Regions from separate parts of the Homo sapiens genome. Here region 2 is linked to region 1. Evidence: promoter capture Hi-C in 16 types of primary human blood cells and fetal thymus (Javierre and others, 2016). All regions are on one chromosome and are shown on one strand. The core of a region is centred on a gene start or on the middle of the fragment in contact, and the rest is flanking DNA. Distances in the headings are between cores, read along the strand shown. Region 1 holds the start of GATAD2B (GATA zinc finger domain containing 2B). Region 2 overlaps INTS3 (integrator complex subunit 3).

What was found. Contacts are between HindIII fragments. The CHiCAGO score rates a contact against its expected background, and 5 or more counts as called.
Region 2: a contact is called between a fragment that was not itself captured here and the fragment with the promoter of GATAD2B in region 1, in 5 of 17 cell types (total B cells, M1 macrophages, M2 macrophages and 2 more). The highest score is 7.7, in total B cells.

The regions. Positions count from the first base shown.
Region 1 is chr1:153,920,524-153,924,716 of GRCh38, reverse strand. GATAD2B (GATA zinc finger domain containing 2B) reads left to right here and starts at 1,745. Exons shown (of 11, transcript NM_020699.4): 1 at 1,745-1,984. It overlaps LOC101928059 (a long non-coding RNA gene), which reads right to left and starts at 1,344. Exons shown (of 4, transcript XR_922160.3): 1 at 755-1,344. RefSeq lists silencers at 670-964, 1,642-1,961 and an enhancer at 1,272-1,511. The HindIII fragment of the contact is 8,959 bases long and covers 1-3,391 here.
Region 2 is chr1:153,757,210-153,761,489 of GRCh38, reverse strand. It overlaps INTS3 (integrator complex subunit 3), which reads right to left. Exons shown (of 30, transcript NM_023015.5): 10 at 3,727-3,918; 11 at 1,877-1,964; 12 at 1,100-1,179; 13 at 572-663. Among named protein-coding and RNA genes, the nearest start is that of SLC27A3, 16 kb to the left of the region's middle. The HindIII fragment of the contact is 8,511 bases long and covers 1-4,280 here.

The DNA of each region.
Region 1 (4,193 bases), core at 496-2,995:
CCAGCTACTTGGGAGGCTGAGGTGGAAAGATGGCTTGAGCCTGGGTGGTGGAGATTGCAGGCAGCTGAGATCACGCCACTGCACTCCAGCCTGGGCGACAGAGGGAGACTGTCTCAAAGAAAAAAAAGAAAAAAAAAATGGGTGCGTCTGTGTTTGTGTAGGATCTACCTACGGCTTTAAGTTGCCATGTCCTCCATTATAATTTCATTTCCATTGCACAGCATGACTTTTAAATAATTTAAAAAACATGTTCAAATACCTGTGGAGGCTGGCGTGGTGGCTCACACACCTGTAATCCCAGCACTTTGGGAGGCTGAGGCAGGAGGATCACCTGAGGTCAGGAGTTCGAGACCAGCCTGGCCAACATGGCGAAACCCCGTCTCTACTAAAAACACAAAAATTAGCCGCGCGCCTGTAATCCCAGCTACTCGGGAGGCTGTTGAGGCAGGAGGATCGTTTGAACCTGGGAGGCGGAGGTTGCAGGAACTGAGATTGTACCACTGCACTCCAGCCTGGGAGACACAGTGAGAAAACAACAATAACAAAATGCCTGTGGAACCAGTTGTTTCTGGGTTTAAACCACTGCTTAGTCACTAACTAGCGGTCTGACCTTTGGCAAGTTACTTAACCTCTCTGAGCCTTAGTTTCCTCATCTACTTGGGTTCAAATTTCAGCTCTACCACTTAACGTGTAACTGGACAAATTTTTTGATCCTAATTTTCCTCATTTGTAAAGTAGGGATAACAGTACCTACCTCACAGTCATGAGGAATAAATACTTCATGTAAAGTTCTTAGCACAGAGCCTGACACAGTCTCTTTCCAAAAACGTTAACTACTATCATAACCTTAACACCCGGACTCTGTTACTTGGTCCCTATCCTCAAGGTGCTCCAGAAACGCTCGCTGAGTTTAGGCGGGCCTAACTGCTCCGTGGAAGCAGGGAGGCCAGCAAAAGGAGCTGGCCCTTGAGTTAATTAGGTGGAATCGGGCGGGGTGGGAGGCTGTTTCCTCGCTGAGAACCTAACCAGACCAGGAGTTCCCAAGAGAAGGAGCTGCGAGGGCTCTGCACACCGTAATTCCTCAGCAACTTGGCTAGCTGCTTTTTTTTTTTTCCTGCTGTCGTGGTTTAGTCACGACAGGACCAAGCGGAGGTACGATGAACACCAGGAAGCTCAAAGCCTTTGGCAGACGGAGACAGGCCACACCCCAAAAAGACGGCAAGGCTCAAGCGCCTAAAGCTAGTTCTATCGTGAAATTTCCTAGAGTCTGTCGCGACGAAACACCGCCCACCGCAGACCCCATCGCCGTTCGCCAGTCTCCATCTTTAGAATTGAAAGAATGAGAGATGGCCAAAGGGGAATCCCGGTTTGGAGAGACTGGGGTACGGCGGCTGCCTGGGGACCAAAACGTCTCTAAGGTAAAGTTGCAGCCTGAAGCGATTTTTTGACCCCCGACACTTAATGGGCTGTCGAAGACCCGGATGTGTCTGGGACTGGCAGAGGTACCCATTAACGCGCCCCCGCTAGACCATCCCCCCTCCTCCGTTTATGATTGGGTTTTAAGCACGCCAATCATCACTTCTCCGGCCACTCATTCTTCAAGGGTGGGGTGAAGTCCCGGCATCTAGTCTTCTACTGGCATGGCCGAGAAGATGAGGGCGGGGTGGCCGGCTTAGGTCGCCCAATGGGCGTCGTGGCGTGTGGGTAAGGCGGAGCCGAGGCGCTTGGCAGCTGCCCAATCAGCGTCCTTGTTTGTGTGGTGCCGCCGCCGCCGGTGCAGCCGTCGCCGCCGCCGCTGCCCCCGTCTGTACCGCAGTGTCTGCTCCGCCCGCCCGCCCCGGTCCGGCCCGCCCCCCTCCCCTACCCCCGTCCCTAGTCCCGTCAGCAGGGTCTGGATCCCCTGTGCCGTCGCCTCTTCCTTTTTCGACGCCTCCGCCGCCGCCTGAGGAGGCGAGCTAGCCGGGAGTTACACCGCCACCGCCAGGTGAGGAGCTTTGGCCTAGGCCAGCCTGGCCGCCCGCCCGCCCGGGGGCGGTGAGGAGCGAGGAAGGGAAGGAGGCTGGGAGGAGGCAGTGGTGGCGGAGGTGGGGGAAGGGAAAGGTGGAGGGGCGGGGGGAGGGGAAGCGCCCGCGAGCCGACGCCCGCCCGCGCGCCCCCGCCTTGCGTCCCCCTCCCCCCACCCCGGCACGGCGCGCCCCCGCCTCGCGCTCCTTCTTCACCTCATCCTCTCCCCCCTTGGCGCGCGCGACCCGGTCTTTCACTTCGGCCTCGCGCGCCCCCAGCTCGTGTCCCTTCATTTCGTCTCCTTGTACTCTTTCTCCCCTCCCTCACGCCCCGTTTCCCCCGCCATCCCCGCTTTCACTCCCTGCCTCATGCCCGCCATGCTCCCCTCCTTTCCTCTCTAGCGCGCCCCCCCCTTTTTTTTTTTAACTCTCTCCACCCCCAGTGGTGCCCTCAGGGTGCGGGGGCCGCTCCCTGCTCAGTCTTGTGTTTGCGGGCGGATGGGACGAATGGGGAATCTAAGGGTAAAGGAAGCACCAGATAATTATCTTTATTTAGGGAAAGGGATCAGGAGCGCATAACCTTACCCCTTTATTTCGTCGTCCACCGTTCGCTCGCCCTCCCGTAGGGGAAGAGAATTGTCTCAGGCTATGTGGGCACTTAGCTTCTACAGCGACTGGGCTTGTGGGACACACTGGATCTGTCTTCCAGTTCAGTTCCTGAGGGTCGGTGGAACTTACCCTTCCCTAACCACACCGGGACTTAGAGTACTTTTGGCCTCCCTGCTCTCAATTACATTGAGGAGCGAGCCACTCATGCGAGTGCAGAGGTTCAGGTGCCATTCGCGCGCCCGGTACAGCTTTCCCGTTTCATAAAGGTATGGTAGCCTCTTTGGATTCTTCCCCAGCATCAACTTCCAAACACAAGATGTTAGCTCATAGGGCTGGCAGTGAGGTGGAGATGGAGGCTTGGTGGTGGGTGGCATGTGGATGCTAACTGAGCTAGCTAGCAACCTTTTCTCTGTTGTCCCCTGGAAAATCAGGTAGCCTCCTGAGAACCAGTTTTCTCATTTCTGATAAATGCTTATTTGGGGGGCGTGTGTGTGTGCGTGTGTGTGTGTGTAAGAGAGAGAGAGAGATGGGGGGATACTTAATACATTTCAGCAGAGGCGAAGGATACTTAATATATTTCAGCAAAGGGCAAGAGCAGTGTTTTCAGGCCAGACTGCAAAAGAGGGATTTGGATTTGTAGCTGATGGAATTAAAACAGGTTTAACAGATCTGTGTTGGAGAAGAGCTGATGCTTTTGTAGTTTTTAGGACATTTTTTCTAAAAATTTATATTTTGAGTAGAAAAGCATGCATGTGGTTGTACAAAGTGAAAAGTAAGCTTCCTTCCCATCTCTGTCCTCCAGCCATCTAGTCTCCTTCCCCTCCTAGCACAGATGACTTTGATGTTTTCTGGCAGCAGCATGGTGCCTATATGTTGTTGGTGATTATCCTGTTTGGGAGTTTAGTGCTAACTTTATTGCTTTTCATTTGGTATGCTGACCTGAACTCTTCCTTGCAGTCTGATAACTTGGATTCTTATTTTGGTGCTGGAGCAGCCTTTCAAGTATTGTCCTAGAGTAGTATTTCTGTCAGTACTTAGTTGGGAAGGAGGCCACTTCTGGAGGTGCTATGGAGGAGTTCAGTATATTTTGAGGGAAGGCCCACACTTGTTGGATCGTGCTGCTTTTTTTGTGACGGATATCTAGTCCCTGGCCATTTGGGAATGGACTGGGTCAAGGATCGGATTCATATAAGCAGATAGCTTATATGAATAACTAGTTGATGGTAAGGCTGTCTTCACTTTTTAGGGGAATAGAGTTTTTTTAGTCCAGTGGCAGTGATAGTCATCATGGAACAAGGTAGAAAAGTACTAATCAGCAGGAATCAGAAGGCTGAATCTATAGGCTGAGTGACCCAGTTTGAGTAGAGGTGAGGCTTACAGACTTTTGTCCTGCCTATTATTCCTTACTTGAGAACACTCTCCATGAGGTGAGAGTGATTTGTAGTTGACAGCAGCATCCATCTTTATGACACTGTGGTTTGCCTTCCCTGACCGTATGTGATGTGTGTTAACTTCCTGTTTAGAGGCAGTCCCAGTAGGGTCTGAATATAGGCTGCACTCAAATACTTTTCTAGGAACAGT
Region 2 (4,280 bases), core at 1,007-3,506, 160 kb after region 1:
CACCTAGGCTGGAGTGCAGTGGCACAATCTCGGCTCACTGCAACCTCCACCTCCCGGATTCAAGCGATTCTTGTGCCTCAGCCTCTCAAGTAGCTAGGATTACAGGTGTGCACCATCACACCTGGCTAATTTTTGTATTTTTAGTAGACACGGGTTTTGCCATGTTGGCCAGGCAGGTCTCAAATTCCTAACCTCAGGTGATCTGCCCACCTTGGCCTCCCAAAGTGCTGGGATTACAGGCATGAGCCACTGTGTCTGGCCAGAGCTTCTCATTTCTAACTCAACATGGAGTTGAGATAGGTCTAAGCACAATCAGTCTAACTGGACCATACTCAGATCCCTGAAGGGGGTCAACAGGGAACATGAAGGCATTTGAAGACCTTTGTAATACGATGGCAGGAGAGAAATTCCTCTAAGAGCCAAGAAGACATATGCCCAGCAGTCTGAGGTAGAGCCAATACTTTTTACACCTGTCAGAGAAAAGGGCCAGCAGTGCTATGGCAACATTTGGATACACCTGGACCTAATGAAAAATGGGAAAACAACCTCCTTCCCCCACCAAATTCCTTACGCCAAGACCCGTTTCTCCACAATGTGGTTGAGGGAGGAAAAGACACCCTGCCGCACGTGGCCCTCCAATGGTGGATAGAAGTTGGGAATGATCTGGAAGCGAAGAAGGAGGGGAAAAATGAGCACAGGACTCCATCCAGAGGCTTCCGCTGAATTAGATCTGAAAAGCTGCTTTGGTTTTGATCAGGGGACACTGGGGAGTATGGCTGCAGAGAGAACTGGACTTCCTGACCACTCCAGGCCACTCAAATGAGAAATTCTTACTGGACCTGGCTGCTCCCCAAGGAAACCAGATTCTACCTTGAGTCACCATCCTTGTGATTGAGAAACCCCACAGAAAATGGGAAGATCCAAGTGCAGACAGTGGAATATGGAAGGGAAGCATTTATTAACTTGGGGGATAGGACCCATGACCATTTCTGCTCTCAGTCAAGGCATACCGAGAAGACCCGTTCACTGGGAGATTAGGGGAGATACACTGAATTCTGCTCATCCAGGCATGGGGAGAAAAGAGAGCTCTAACACTTACGCGGCACATGAAGTCCAGGAGTGTGGCAGTGATGGCTGGGTGGGGCTTCATGGAGTGGTGCATGACCAGGATGGCTGGTTCTGGAGGATGTGAAATTAAAGAGCCCCTCACATCAGTCAGTCTCTCTCTCTCTTTTTTTTTTTTTTTTTTTTTTTTTTGAAACAGAGTCTTGCTCTGTCACCCAGGCTGGAGTGCAAATGGTACGATCTCAGCTCACTGAAGCCTCTGCCTCCCAGGTTCAAGCGAATCTCATGCCTCAACCTCCCCAGCAGCTGGAATTACAGGTGTGCGCCACCACGCCAGGCTAAAGTCAGTCTGTTTCTATCTCCATAAAATGGGATGTCAATATACATGAATGGCTCTGGGAAGTGCTATGTCTATTCCCCCCATTTCCACTGAGCAGACCCAAGAGCAGACAGGCCCCGAAACAGCTTGTAGCCCTCATTTCCCTTCTTGTTCCCAGCATTCAGCTTTGAGAAGGGAAGTAATAGGTGAGGAGAAGCAGGACATGGTACAGCCTTTTCCTTTGCCCATGCCCTCCCCTCCTGAAGACCATGCATCCTGAAGACTGTGGGGAGGAGGTACAGTGATGGCTTAGCCTTATCAAAGCAATTCTCTTTCTAGGTCAAGGGAAAACTGATGAGGAACAACAGAGCTGCTCCCAGATAAACTGCCTCCACTCCACGGTGCCCTGAGATTTATGACTGCTATCACTAAGGAAGGCAGTGGGGGCTTAGGGGGATGGGGAAGTGGAGCCGCCTGGTCTTGGTCACATACCTATGTTCATAATGCTATCCTTGTCTGGACTAAAGAACAGCCAGTCATAAAACAAAGCCAGCTTGGCATTGGAGGCAGCGACATTTGACTGGAAAAGAGAGGGGAGAAACAGAGGGCTAGTTTCATCAATCACCCCCCTCCATTTCAGAGTCCCAAGACAGATTCCAGGCCCCACTTGGCTGTTTCATCTATGAAATTCAGTTCCTAGTGAAACACGGTGAAATGCTAACCCCCCTTGTGTTGTGTATGAGTGAATACTCTGTGGTCTTATGGTCTTAACCAAGAGGACAGAGGACAGGGATTGGGCCAGGTACCCCCCGAACCTTTTTTTTTTTTTTTCCAGACAGGGTCTTGCTCTGTTGCCCAGGCTGTAGTGCAGTGGCATGATCTCAGCTCACTGCAACCTCCACCGCCCAGGCTCGAGAGAGCCTCTCACCTCAGCCTGGGACTACAGGCACGCACCACCTCACCTGGCTCATTTTTCTATTTTTTTGTAGAGATGAGGGTCTTGCCATGTCACCCAGGCTGGAGCGCAGTGGCATGATCACGGCTTACTCCAGCCTTGACCTCTTAGGCTCGGGTGATCCTCCCAGCCTCAGCCTCCTTGGTAGCTGGGACTACAGGAGCACACCACCATGCGTGGCTTTATGTTTTGTTTTGTTTTGTTTTGGTAGAGATGGGTTTTGCCATGTTGCCCAGGCTGGTCTTGAACTCCTGGGCTCAAGTGATCCTCCCACCTCAGCCTCCCAAAGTATTGGGATTATAGGTGAGAGCCACCATGCCTGGCCAGGCCTGGGTTCTTTTCTTTTTGTTGTTGAGACAGGGTCTGACTCTGTCACCCAGGCTGGAGTGCAGTGGCAGGATCTCAGCTCACTGCAACCTCTACCTCCCAGGCTCAAGCGGTCCTCTCACCTCAGCCTGGGACTACAGCCGCACACCAACACACTTGGCTAATTTTTGTATTTTTTTGTAGAGATGGGGTCTTGCCATGTTGCCCAGGCTGGTCTCAAACTCCTGAGCTCAAGCAATCTGCCCACCTCAACCTCCCAAAGTGCTGGGATTACAGGCGTGAGCCACCGTGCTCGGCAGGCCTGGGTTCTTGATACATCCAGCAGTTCATATCTCTGATTCCCATAGGGGACAATGCTTGGACTCAGAAGTCCACTCATCACCCCTGAGCTGAGGCAACAGTCAGACTAGCACCCCTTGGCTGCCCTTTCTGGGCTCTCCAGGCACATTCCTGAAGAAGAGACCCCCACCCCTCCAGGAATAGCCTGTTGTCATATCTGAATCAGCACATTCCAAGGACCCAGTCAAATGGGGGAGGAGGAACCCTGTTGGAAGAGGTCAGGGGGCAGCCAGATGCCAGAGAATGGATAGTTTCCCACCCTAGGCACAGAGAGGAAAACATTTGAAAGGAAATGCCTCCACTGCAGATTCGCTGCATTTACAGAAGGGAAGTAGACAAAGCTGATGCCAAAAAGGCATGGTGGTGAGGGTCTAAAGAATGCAAGCTCTGAATCTGAGAAAGAAACAGTTAAGAGGAATAGCTGTATATGGTTTCTGGAAGCAAAAATGAAAAAGGCAGGGACGCTCCAGAAACCCAGGCTTTTGGGGGTTGGCAGTAATGGGGGAGATGAACCTGTTCAATCTCAAACCCAGATGGAAAATAATGAGTGTAAGTAAATTTCTAGAGACACAAAGGGAAGTGAAGGCTGAGACACTCTGGAAGACCAGAGTGAAAGAAGGGCCCTTAGGGGTCAAGTGGCCCTGGAGTCAGGAAGAAGAATGGAAACATGGGAACACCATGGAAGAGGCACCCTTCACCACCCAGTATCTTTTGCCCTCACCGTGCACGTTGTCAGGAGCCAACCAATGATGGCCCACCGGGGCAAGATATCTGAACTCAGTACTTCATTAGAAGGGTGGACTACCCCACAGATGTAGCGAATGAGGTCACAGCGCAGAGACTGACTATCTGGAGTTGACAGGTACTGGCGCTGGAACCAATCTTGGTATCGCTTTTGTTGACCAAATCGCACCTGGGGAAAGGGGAAGCAAGAAAAAGACCTTAGAAGACAGTGTGGGGTCCTTGGCCAGAGGAAAACGAGCACCACTTAACTCTAGGTTTGCCCTAGACCTCTATTTCTCCACAATTCATTCATTAGCTCATACTGTCTCGTAAGTCTCCCCTCCTTTAGGAGAACTTCTTGATTAAAAAAAAAATGCTGAAAATTTCTAGCTTGCCCTGCATTCTGATGTTACAGTCATTCTTGCCACTGACCTCAGGCTACATTTACCCCCAACTGCAACTTCAGTCCAGTTTTTGGCTCTTTACTCCTTGCACTGGTCACTGACTCTCCAGTCAGAAGTATAACCTTTTCTCATTTTCTTGAGCCACTGG